2 separate regions of the Homo sapiens genome follow, and region 1 is linked to region 2. The links are contacts of gene promoters, found by promoter capture Hi-C in blood cells and fetal thymus (Javierre and others, 2016). All regions are on one chromosome and are shown on one strand. Each heading gives the region's core, a stretch centred on a gene start or on the middle of the fragment in contact. The rest is flanking DNA. Distances are from core to core; before and after follow the strand shown.

Region 1 (4,994 bases), core at 1,542-4,041, 290 kb before region 2:
GGACCCACCCTCTCACCACCACGGCGAGGAAAACAAGGCCCACTTCCACTGGGCCTGCTCCAGAGAGCCAGCACTCAGACGAACCCACCCAGGACACAGGCCACATCTGTGGGTGTGACAGGAGCCTCATGTTCCCGGCAGCGCAACTGCTACAGATGGCAGCAGCTTCCAAGATGGTGCCAGGGCTTGCCCATGAAAAGCCAAGAGAATGTAGGAGTCTTGTAACAAAGGTCAGAGGATGCGTTTCTTTTCAAACACCTCCCTGAAGAAGGTGTGTTAGGCCCATGGAATAAGTTTCTTTAAACTGCTTTAAAACATTATATAACATAATTTTTAGGCCAGGGTTTTGTTGTTGATTGTTTTCGTATAATCTGATATAAGCCAACAGTTTTCTAGGCAATGTGGGTTTCCTTGCCTAGGGACCATCTTCCCTCTTTTTAAGAACATACTTGGGGCCCTGAGTAATAAATAGCTCTTTGGACTCCAGAGTGTGGCAGGAGAATCTCAGGGCATCAGAGAGCCTTTGAGAAGAAGCAAGTGTTTCTGGCTGCCCAGACACAAATAACAGCTTTCTACTTTCATTTATGAAGCTCACTGCGGGAGCCCTGAGATCCTGGAGGCCCTGGGCTGGGCGTAAGCACCACAACCTGCAGCTCCCTGTGGCTCTAGCGCCCACGCCCTTCCCTCCAGCTCCCTGTGGCTCTAGCGCCCACGCCCTTCCCTCCAGCTCCCTGTGGCTCTAGCGCCCACGCCCCTCCCTCCAGCTCCCTGTGGCTCTAGCGCCCACGCCCTTCCCTCCAGCTCCCTGTGGCTCTAGCGCCCACGCCCTTCGCTCCAGCAGAGCACCCCCTCACATGTGCACGCGCCTGTGTCCTTCCATGCACAGTTACTCTGAAAAATACCAAGTGTTCCTGGGTGGACACATTTCCTAAATGTCACCTCCCCACCATCCCGCACAAGGACAAGCAGCTGATGCAGGCAGAACGCCACACTTCGGGCGGCAACAGATCACTAAATGAAGCACACTTTCCCTTCCTCCAATTTACCAATTCTTATCTTTGCAGACTGGGGCTCTGGGGGGGCTCCCTTGGGCTTCTCAGGGTAAGCATTTCCCCCAAAGTCATGTGGGTTTGTGGACACAAACCTCAGATCCCAAACGAGCCCAATGCCTGCATTTCCAAAACACTTCTCTTTGGCCTTATTCCTGAAAATGCCCAAAAACGCAAAGGACTGGCACAACTATAAAAATATAAAATATAAAAACCCAAGAGCATGCTGCATCTGCACTCAGAGAAGCTCATTCAAGTAAGGCAGCTTCCTTCCACACAGGTGAAATGGCACTTTTCACCGCACATGATCAACATTTACTTAAAAGTCACGGACGTGCACTCTACAGAAATCCTGAATACATGATACCACATCATTTTTTCTTGCACGGCAGCATCTCGGCAGACACACAGAGTTGTAATATCAGCACAGCCCACTGGATGGAGCATCTGAGTTCAGATCAATCTCCATGTGGCTTGCACCGAAGATCCTAACTGCATAAACCAGCTTCTTCCTGGCTGGGATCTGCTGCGGTCCATCAGGCGAATGGTACTCACAGTGACGATGAAGGTGAGCACCACAAAGAAAAACCGGAACCAGATTTCCAACCGGGAGAAGGCAGGGTTATAAGTCTTCCACTAAAATAGAAAGTGGAGAAAACAATTTGAAAAAAATATATATGCATCTAAGAGAAAATACACCAGATTACTAATAGTTATCTCTAGATGAGACAATATATACACATACACACACACACACACACACACACACACTTTTTTTTTTTTTTTTTGGATATGGAGTCTCGCTCTATCGCCCAGGCCGGAGTGAAGTGGCGCAATCTTCGCTCACTGCAACCTCCGCCTCCCAGGTTCAATCACTTCTCCTACCTCAGCCTCCTGAGTAGCTGGGATTACAGGTGCCTGCCACCATGCAGGTTAAAATTTTGGAACATCCTACATGTTCCAAAATTTTAACATTTAGTACAGTTTACTTTTTTATCAAAGGACACAGACATAAAAAAATCTTAATTACCAAGAGCGAAAAATAATTTCAAATGTTGTTACATGGATAAATCCGACAAATTATTTTATAATCATAAAAGCATTCGGATCTTATATCTCACATCAAAAATCAAGCTTGTCAATCTCTTTATTAGAAATAGTCATACTTTCCATCAAAAGAAAGTTTTAAAAGATGTAAAAGTGCAACTAGAATGTTGTTACAAAGTTTAAGTAAAACCTTTAAGTATGAATGTGAAAGCAGAAGAGTGAGCTGCAGTTGAAGGAGTCCGTTCTCATGCTGACTGGACAGTCCCACGTGTGCCAAGTGTGCACTGATGGAGCCGAGGACAGGGGCACTGCTGCTGACAGCAGAGCAGAGGCTAGCCACCACCAACCTAAGCACGAGCCAGGTCCATAACCAGACCCCAGAACACTGTGCTCACAGGGCCAGAGAGCCCCATCATTCTGATGCATTGAATTAAAGTCATCTGAGCAATTTAAAAAATCCACTTCAGTACAAATAGAGTTACAGATTTACCTAAAACATCACGCACACACACACACACACGCATGCACGCATGCACAAGGATGATTTAAGACACTGGACCTGAGGAAGCAATGAAGGGTAGTAACCTCTGACTGATGGGAAACAACAAGGGGTGCCCCTGGTGGCCCCACATCATGGAGGGGAACCCAGGCAGAGCCACGGCTGGGAGTCCAGGGAGACAGGGCTGGCCCGAATCCACAGGACAGAGTGCTGGAAAGGAGAGCTGTACAGAGAGAGAACGAACCTCCCAAAAAGCCAGTGCCTGGCACCCACAAGACAGAGAAGAAACTCACCATCAAAGGGCATTGGGTAGCATATGCTGAATGCTTTTGCCTCAGCGTTAGGAAAAAATAAGCCTCAAGACTTCATGCTGCTTTGGCCCCACCTAGCAATGTTGAAAAGCAAGGCCAGAAAAGATCAAACCATTTCCAAGGAAATTAACAACGTCCCAGAACAAAGCTCAGGGATATTTATAAGATATAAAACCTAGCAATCAATAATGTCTGGCATTGAACCAAAAGTACCAGACACACCAAAAAGCAGGAAAATACAAACCATATGAGGAAAAAAACAACGAATCAAAACTGGCCCAGAAATCACAGATGACAAAATTAGCAGATAAGGAAATAAAGCAGCTAGATGAAAGATTTTTGTGTTAAATAAAGACTTGGAAGATGATCAACAGATTAGACACGACAGAGATTGGTAAATGTGAAGGCACAGCAATAGAAGCTATCTAAAATAAAACTAAAAAAAAAAAAAAAAAAACCTGAAAAAAAATCAACATAGCATCGGGAAGCTTTGGACAACTTCAAGTGGCCTAATACAGGGGTCCCCAGGCCACAGACCAATACTGGCCACGTGGCCTGTCAGCAACCGGGCCATACAGCAGCAGATGAGCAGTGGGCCAGCGAGCATTACCGCCTGAGCTCTTCAGGTCGGCCAGGGCATTAGATTCTCACAGAAGCACGAACCTGCTGTCAACTGTGCAGGCGAGGGATCTAGGCTGCACGCTCCTTACGAGAATCTAATGATAAATGAAATGCCCTTGAGTCGTCCCCAAATCATCCCCAACCAACCCTGGTCCATGGAAAAATTGTCTTCCACAAAACCAGTCCCCGATGCCAAAAAGGCTGGGGACCACTGGCCTACTGGCCTAATTTGGGGTTCCTGAATTTGGGAGGTCAGGGGACCAGAAGGACAAAAAAAGTATTTGAAGAGATAATGGCCAAAATGTTTCCGATTTGATGAAAACTATCAACTCACAAATCCAAGAAGCTCAATGGCCAAGCACAAGAAACGAGGAAAAGTACAAGAAGCACCGTGAGAGAAAAATCTTAAAAGGGGGTGGGGAGAGGGAAGAACATTATTACATTAGACGAAGATAAGGACAAAGATAAGGTGGACATCAGATTTCTTGTCAGAAAAATGCAAGCCGGAAGACAGTGACCAACATTTTCAAAGTATGTAAATTAGGCCAGGTGCAGTGGCTCACACCTGTAATCCCAACACTTTGGGAGGCTGAGGTGGGAGGCTAGTTTGAGGCCAGGAGTTTGAGGTGAGCCTGGTCAACAGAGCAAGATCCTGTCTCTACAAAAATAAAAAATAAAAAAATTAGCCAGCATGGTGGCGTGCGCCTGTATTCACAGCTACTCAGGAGGCCAGGGTCAGTGAGCCATGATCATCTCACTGCACTCTAGCCTAGGCGACAGAGCAAGGTCCCATCTCAAAAAAAAAAAAGTACATAAATTAAAACTGCAATGTAAAACCATTAAATACCATTATACACCGATTAGAACAGCCAAAATTCAAAAGACTGACCGTACCGAGCATTGACGGGATATGAAGTAACTGAAACCCTCACACGCTACTGGTGTAACATAAAGTAACACAACCACTCTGCAGAACAGTTTGTGAGTTTCTTAACCACATGGCCCAACCATTCCATTTCTAGCATTTATCCAAGAGAAATGAAAGCATATGTCCACACAAAGCTTTATACACAGATGTTCATCGCTGCTTTCTTTGTGACAGCCCCAAACTGGAAGTAATTCAAATGTCCATCAACAGGTGAATGAATAAACAATTTCTGTTACATTTATACTAGAATATCACTATGGACACACTCATCATCGATCAAGCTCAAAATAATTATGCTACGTGAAACAATTCATATTGGAGAAGTACATATTGTATAATTCCAGTTACATAAAATTCTCAAAAAAATGCAAATAACAGATCAGTGACTTCCCAGGGATGGGAAAGGACAGGAGGAAGGGGCACAAGAAGATGTTTAGGGGTGATGGCTGGTGAGGGGATGCTTATGATCTTGATTGTGGGAACGGCTTCCCAGGTTTCACTGTGTGTCAACTATACCTCAATAAAGCTGCCAAACAAAA
Region 2 (4,683 bases), core at 899-3,398:
TGGTTAGGATCATCTAATTTAACCCCCCACCCTGGTTAGAAAGCGCCCTGGCCTCCCTACTGCTGGGCGTCTTCCCACTGCCCGGACCCTCTAAGAGAGACAGTGCAGGGAGAGGACAGCAGGGGTGCCAGGGACAACTGACCCACCTGGGGAGGCGCAGCCTACTGTGAACTATGTCCATCTTAGCATCTTTTCTGCCAGAGAATAAGAGACAGAACTCACAGCATGGGAAGTCTCACTAGGCAGCAAGTCTATGAAACTGAAATGAAGGAAGTTTCAAGTCCACAAGGGGCTCAAAAACACCACTGGAAGTGACCAAAAAGTGAAACAAAACCACAGCTCACCTCGCTATTGTGGCCCCGGAGGTTGAAATTTATCCTCTGTGGAGTACTCCTGTCCCTGCGACAGTGACTAGAGGTGAAAGTCACCCCAACCACTCCTCGCCCGTTGCCCGTGGCCAGCCAGCCTTCCTCATAGTAGCGTCTCCTGCACACAGGCTTCTCCTTCTCACTCTTGGGGACACGCCCCTTCCAGGACAGGCACAGGATGTTGGAATCGCTGCAAAGCACAGGCCCATGTTCCACTGCTGCATACATACTTTCTTCAATGAACTGTTTTACTTAAAAAGTAATGTTAATGCTGTGAAATTTAAACCAATTTCTTTCATTGGTATATGTGTTTTTGTGGTTGGCTTGCGTTGCTTTTTTCCCCCTTTAATTAAGACTGACCTGAATCTAATTAGAAGGTCAGTATTTTATAAAGATCCACCGAATGCATAGTGAAAAAATTCCTCTATAAAAGATGATGGCAGTCTTCTAAGAAAAGGTAATGCTTAAAAAAACATGGGGTCCATTTGTATTTTCAAGTTCTCAGAGGAAGAACGTGCTGATCCTTTGGAGAAAGAGCATCGTTAATTAAGTGGTGATCAAGAAACGGTTTTCTTCTTTTTACTCCACTTGGTTATTCTCATTCAGCCTGAGATTCCAGTTTAGTGTAATATGATTCCAGAGACAAAGGGTTGCAAATACATAGATTTCAAGTAACTTAAGGCTTTAAGAATCCCTCTAGCTCGAATTTTTCTCTTCAAAAGTTCGGATGCAGAGACAGAATACACAGGATCATCTTCCTTCTGAAGCCACCCTCTAGCATGTTTCCTGAACTAGACAAATTTCTGCTGCTAAAGCTGAAAAAGATTGCATAAAGGGAAAAAAAGGCACACAAACCGTGCAAAACAGACCAGAGTTTGTGCAGACAAGAGTCCAAATTTTAGGAAGAAAAACAGACTCTCTCCTTGTTGTTTCAGAACCAGAAACTTTCCACCTCAAAGCTTGGCCCTGTGTCCCCGGGGAACGCAGGGCTCCATCGGACTGCTCCTCCACCAGCCGGCGCACCCCTCAGTGCCATAGAGGCTAGAAAGAAGGCCCCTTCACTCAAGAGGCAGAATGTTCCAGCGCTCTTACAGTGGTCCCAGTGTTTGCCCTGGGTGAGTCTTAAATCCTCTTGCTGACAAAACAGAGCCACGTGGCAAGATTTTGTTTCTTTTGCTCGTCTCCCTTCTCGCTCCCCCAGTTAGCACTCCCCTTTTCTGCTCCTAAAGATCTTTTTCCATCTTGATGAAAAAAGCTAATCTTAGAATTAAGTCCATCAGGTAATCTTCTCATACGCAAGTCTTCTTGGACTTGACAGGGAAGTTAATCCCTTAAAACAAAAGCAGAAGCCAGAGTCAGATTCCCCCAGCTGTCTCCCTAGAGAGTGATAGTGTTTTGCTGATGGGTGCTTTCCTGTTCACATTCAGAGACTGTCTCCAAACACCACACCACTAGTCCAACAAAAAGAAAGCTTTGCTTGGATTTTCCTTGATATTTATTTAATAATTATTGGTTTCAATTGCTATTTTACAATATTATCCTATAGATGCAGGAAAAAAGGGGGGGAATAATAAATTAAAATTTCTCAAATACAGTTAATTAAGATAGGCAAAGGAATCAGTTCATTATTCAAACTTGTCCCATCATACTTGAACTTGCTTTCCTCTAGCCATAACCACAGTAGGAGTTACTTTTCAGTCTAGAATTTTAATCCGTCCAAATCACCAAACCCACTGAAAAATAAAGTGCAACAAACACTGTGTGAGCCGCTGCAATGTTTGAAATCACACTTCTTTCTCAGTCACCTTCTCACTTAGTTCCTTCTTTAAACTGGAGAATATTTTTGTGGTTTAATCTGCGCAAATTTTTTTTTCTTCTTTTTGCAGACTTTCTTTACCCGTGCAGACCATATGGAAAACTGGCCATTAGTGATGTATTTTTCTCCCCGGGCTCCTGAGCCCACTGGTGTCAAGTTGCTCCATCTGATTCTTAAATTAATTTTCATCAGTTGTAAAACTCTCAAGTGTGCACAAGAATGAGCCTGTCTTCCCGTGTGAATGTGTAAGTACAGAAAGAAGGTTTTAAATGCACATAGACACACACTCTTCAACTGCCATACGAAGCGTCTGCTTCCCCAGTCATTTCAGGAACCATCAGATTATTCACGGCTGGGAGGCCCTGGAGTCTTACAAATCTGTTTAAAAAAAAAAAAAGATATAAAATTTAAAAACTTTAAAACACTGGAAAATAAAGGTTTTAAGAATAATTGCTGAAACTGAAATGAGAGACCCATCTTTACACTTACATCAAATGGAGCTACTGACTGCACTGAATGGTAAAATCCAATAGTGAAAGGATACACCTCACCAGACTCAAGACAACACACAACAAATGAGAGTTCTGCCTGCCACTGATCGTTGTATTCAATTTGTCAGCAGCTGGGCACATCTGAATGAAATCATAACTGCCATTCTTCCACACTGAACTGTACTTTCTAAGAGACTGAACTCCGAATGTGAGACTCTACCCCTCCAGAGACCATGGTCGCTGTTTAAGCAGGCATCCTCAAAAAGGAGACTGAAATGACTCAGGCAAGTTATCTGGATTGATTTTTTCACGATTAATAAAAGATATTCCCTCAAGACACAAAGCAGTAAGGGCCTTTAAAACTCATTCGTCCCTGATGGCTGGCAGGTCTCGGAGCAAAGCGCAGCTGTTTTCTAAGCTTTTATGTGGTCTACCAGCAATAAAGTTCTAGAGAATCTGTCTCTAGCAAATCCATTCCATCTTCTTCCTACTGCCTGAAGTCCAGGCTGCATCACATCCTCTACAAACACGAGAACACTCTGTCCCTAACTTACTCATCCTCCCTGCCCTCCCGCCCCGCCAGTCCTTCCAGAAAGCAGAGTGGACTTTCTCAAATTCAGCAGACTCTCTCAGTCTCCTGGGGCAGCTGAAGCGGCCCAGCCCCATCCCACAGGAACTGGACACTGAAAGGGAAGGGAAGGGCCCAGGTGTTCGCATTTCTAATAAGCTCCCAAGAGATGCTAATGCTGCTGGGCAGGGAACCAGGCTTTGAGAACTACTGGCCTGTAGCATCAAGTCCCAGCAAAAGACTCTACTTTCATCATAATACTAGGACATAATTTGCCTTCTTCCGTGTTCACATTTGTACCCATGGTGCAAAATCAACAGTGGGTCAAACTGCAAGCTCTTTAACACTAATCAAGGTAGAGGTACCAACTGCACCAGTAGTCATAGATTAAAAAAAAGAAAGAAAAAAAAAGCCAGCCTCACTTAAGAACATCTTTGATACGGCAGTAAAAATTATTAATTTTATTAAATATCAGCCCTTGAGTACATGGTTTTTAATACCCTTGTGTCCCAAAATAGTAGGTACACATAAAGTACTTCTGTGGACTACTGAAGCACCATGGTAGTCCCAGGAAAAAGCATGTATTATACAGTTTAAGTTGCAAAATGAACTGCTTGCTTTTTTCATGGAATACCATGTGACATGGTTTGAATGTTTGGCCCCTCCAAATCTCATGCTGAAACGTAACCCCCAGTGTTAGAGGTGGGGCCTGGTGGGAGGTGTTTGGATCATGGGGGCAGTCCCTCATGAATGTCTTGGTGCTGTCTTCTGACAGTGAGTGAACTCTCACGATACCTGGTTGTTTAAAAGAATGTAGCACCAGGAGTTCGAGACCAGCCTGGCCAACATGGTGAAACCCTGTCTCTACTAAAAATACAAAAATTACCTGAGCATGGTGGTGGGCACCTGTAATCCCAACTACTCAGGAGGCTGAGGCAGAAGAATTGCTTGAAACCGAAAGGCAGAGGTTGCGGTGAGCCAAGATCGCACCACTGCACTCCAGCCTGGGCGAAAGAGAAAAACTCCGTCTCAAAAAAAAAAAAAAAAAAAAAGTGTAGCACCTCCCACCTCTCTTGCTGCTCCCGCTCTAGCTATGTGACATGCTAGTTCCTTGTCACCTTCTGCCATGTTTGTAAGCTTCCTGAGGCCTCACCAGAAACAGATGCCAGCACCATGCTTCCTGTAAAGCCTGCAGAGCCATGAGCCAATTAAAACAATTTTCTTTATAAATTACCCAGTCTCAGGTATTCCTTATAGTAATGCAAATGGGCTAATACCCCAAGTTTACTAAAAAGTATGAATGACAAATTATGGTTGTTCCAGCTGGGATATTTGGCCGACATTTTCTTGAACATGAACAAAGTAAGCCTGCCACTTTAAGGAAAACAACTAACAGAATTTGTTGTTGAAAATAAAAACTGAGCTCCCTCTCCCTCTCCC

The links. Contacts are between HindIII fragments. The CHiCAGO score rates a contact against its expected background, and 5 or more counts as called.
Region 1: a fragment that was not itself captured here is called in contact with the fragment with the promoter of TULP4 in region 2 in 1 of 17 cell types (endothelial precursors); the score reaches 5.2 in endothelial precursors.

Annotation. Positions count from the first base shown.
Region 1 is chr6:158,601,958-158,606,951 of GRCh38, reverse strand. It overlaps TMEM181 (transmembrane protein 181), which reads right to left. Exons shown (of 17, transcript NM_001376852.1): 7 at 1,605-1,685. Among named protein-coding and RNA genes, the nearest start is that of MIR7161, 5.3 kb to the left of the region's middle. The HindIII fragment of the contact is 1,211 bases long and covers 2,186-3,396 here.
Region 2 is chr6:158,309,930-158,314,612 of GRCh38, reverse strand. It overlaps TULP4 (TUB like protein 4), which reads right to left and starts at 2,148. Exons shown (of 14, transcript NM_020245.5): 1 at 345-2,148. The coding sequence starts at 596. RefSeq lists an enhancer at 445-524. The HindIII fragment of the contact is 1,254 bases long and covers 1,842-3,095 here.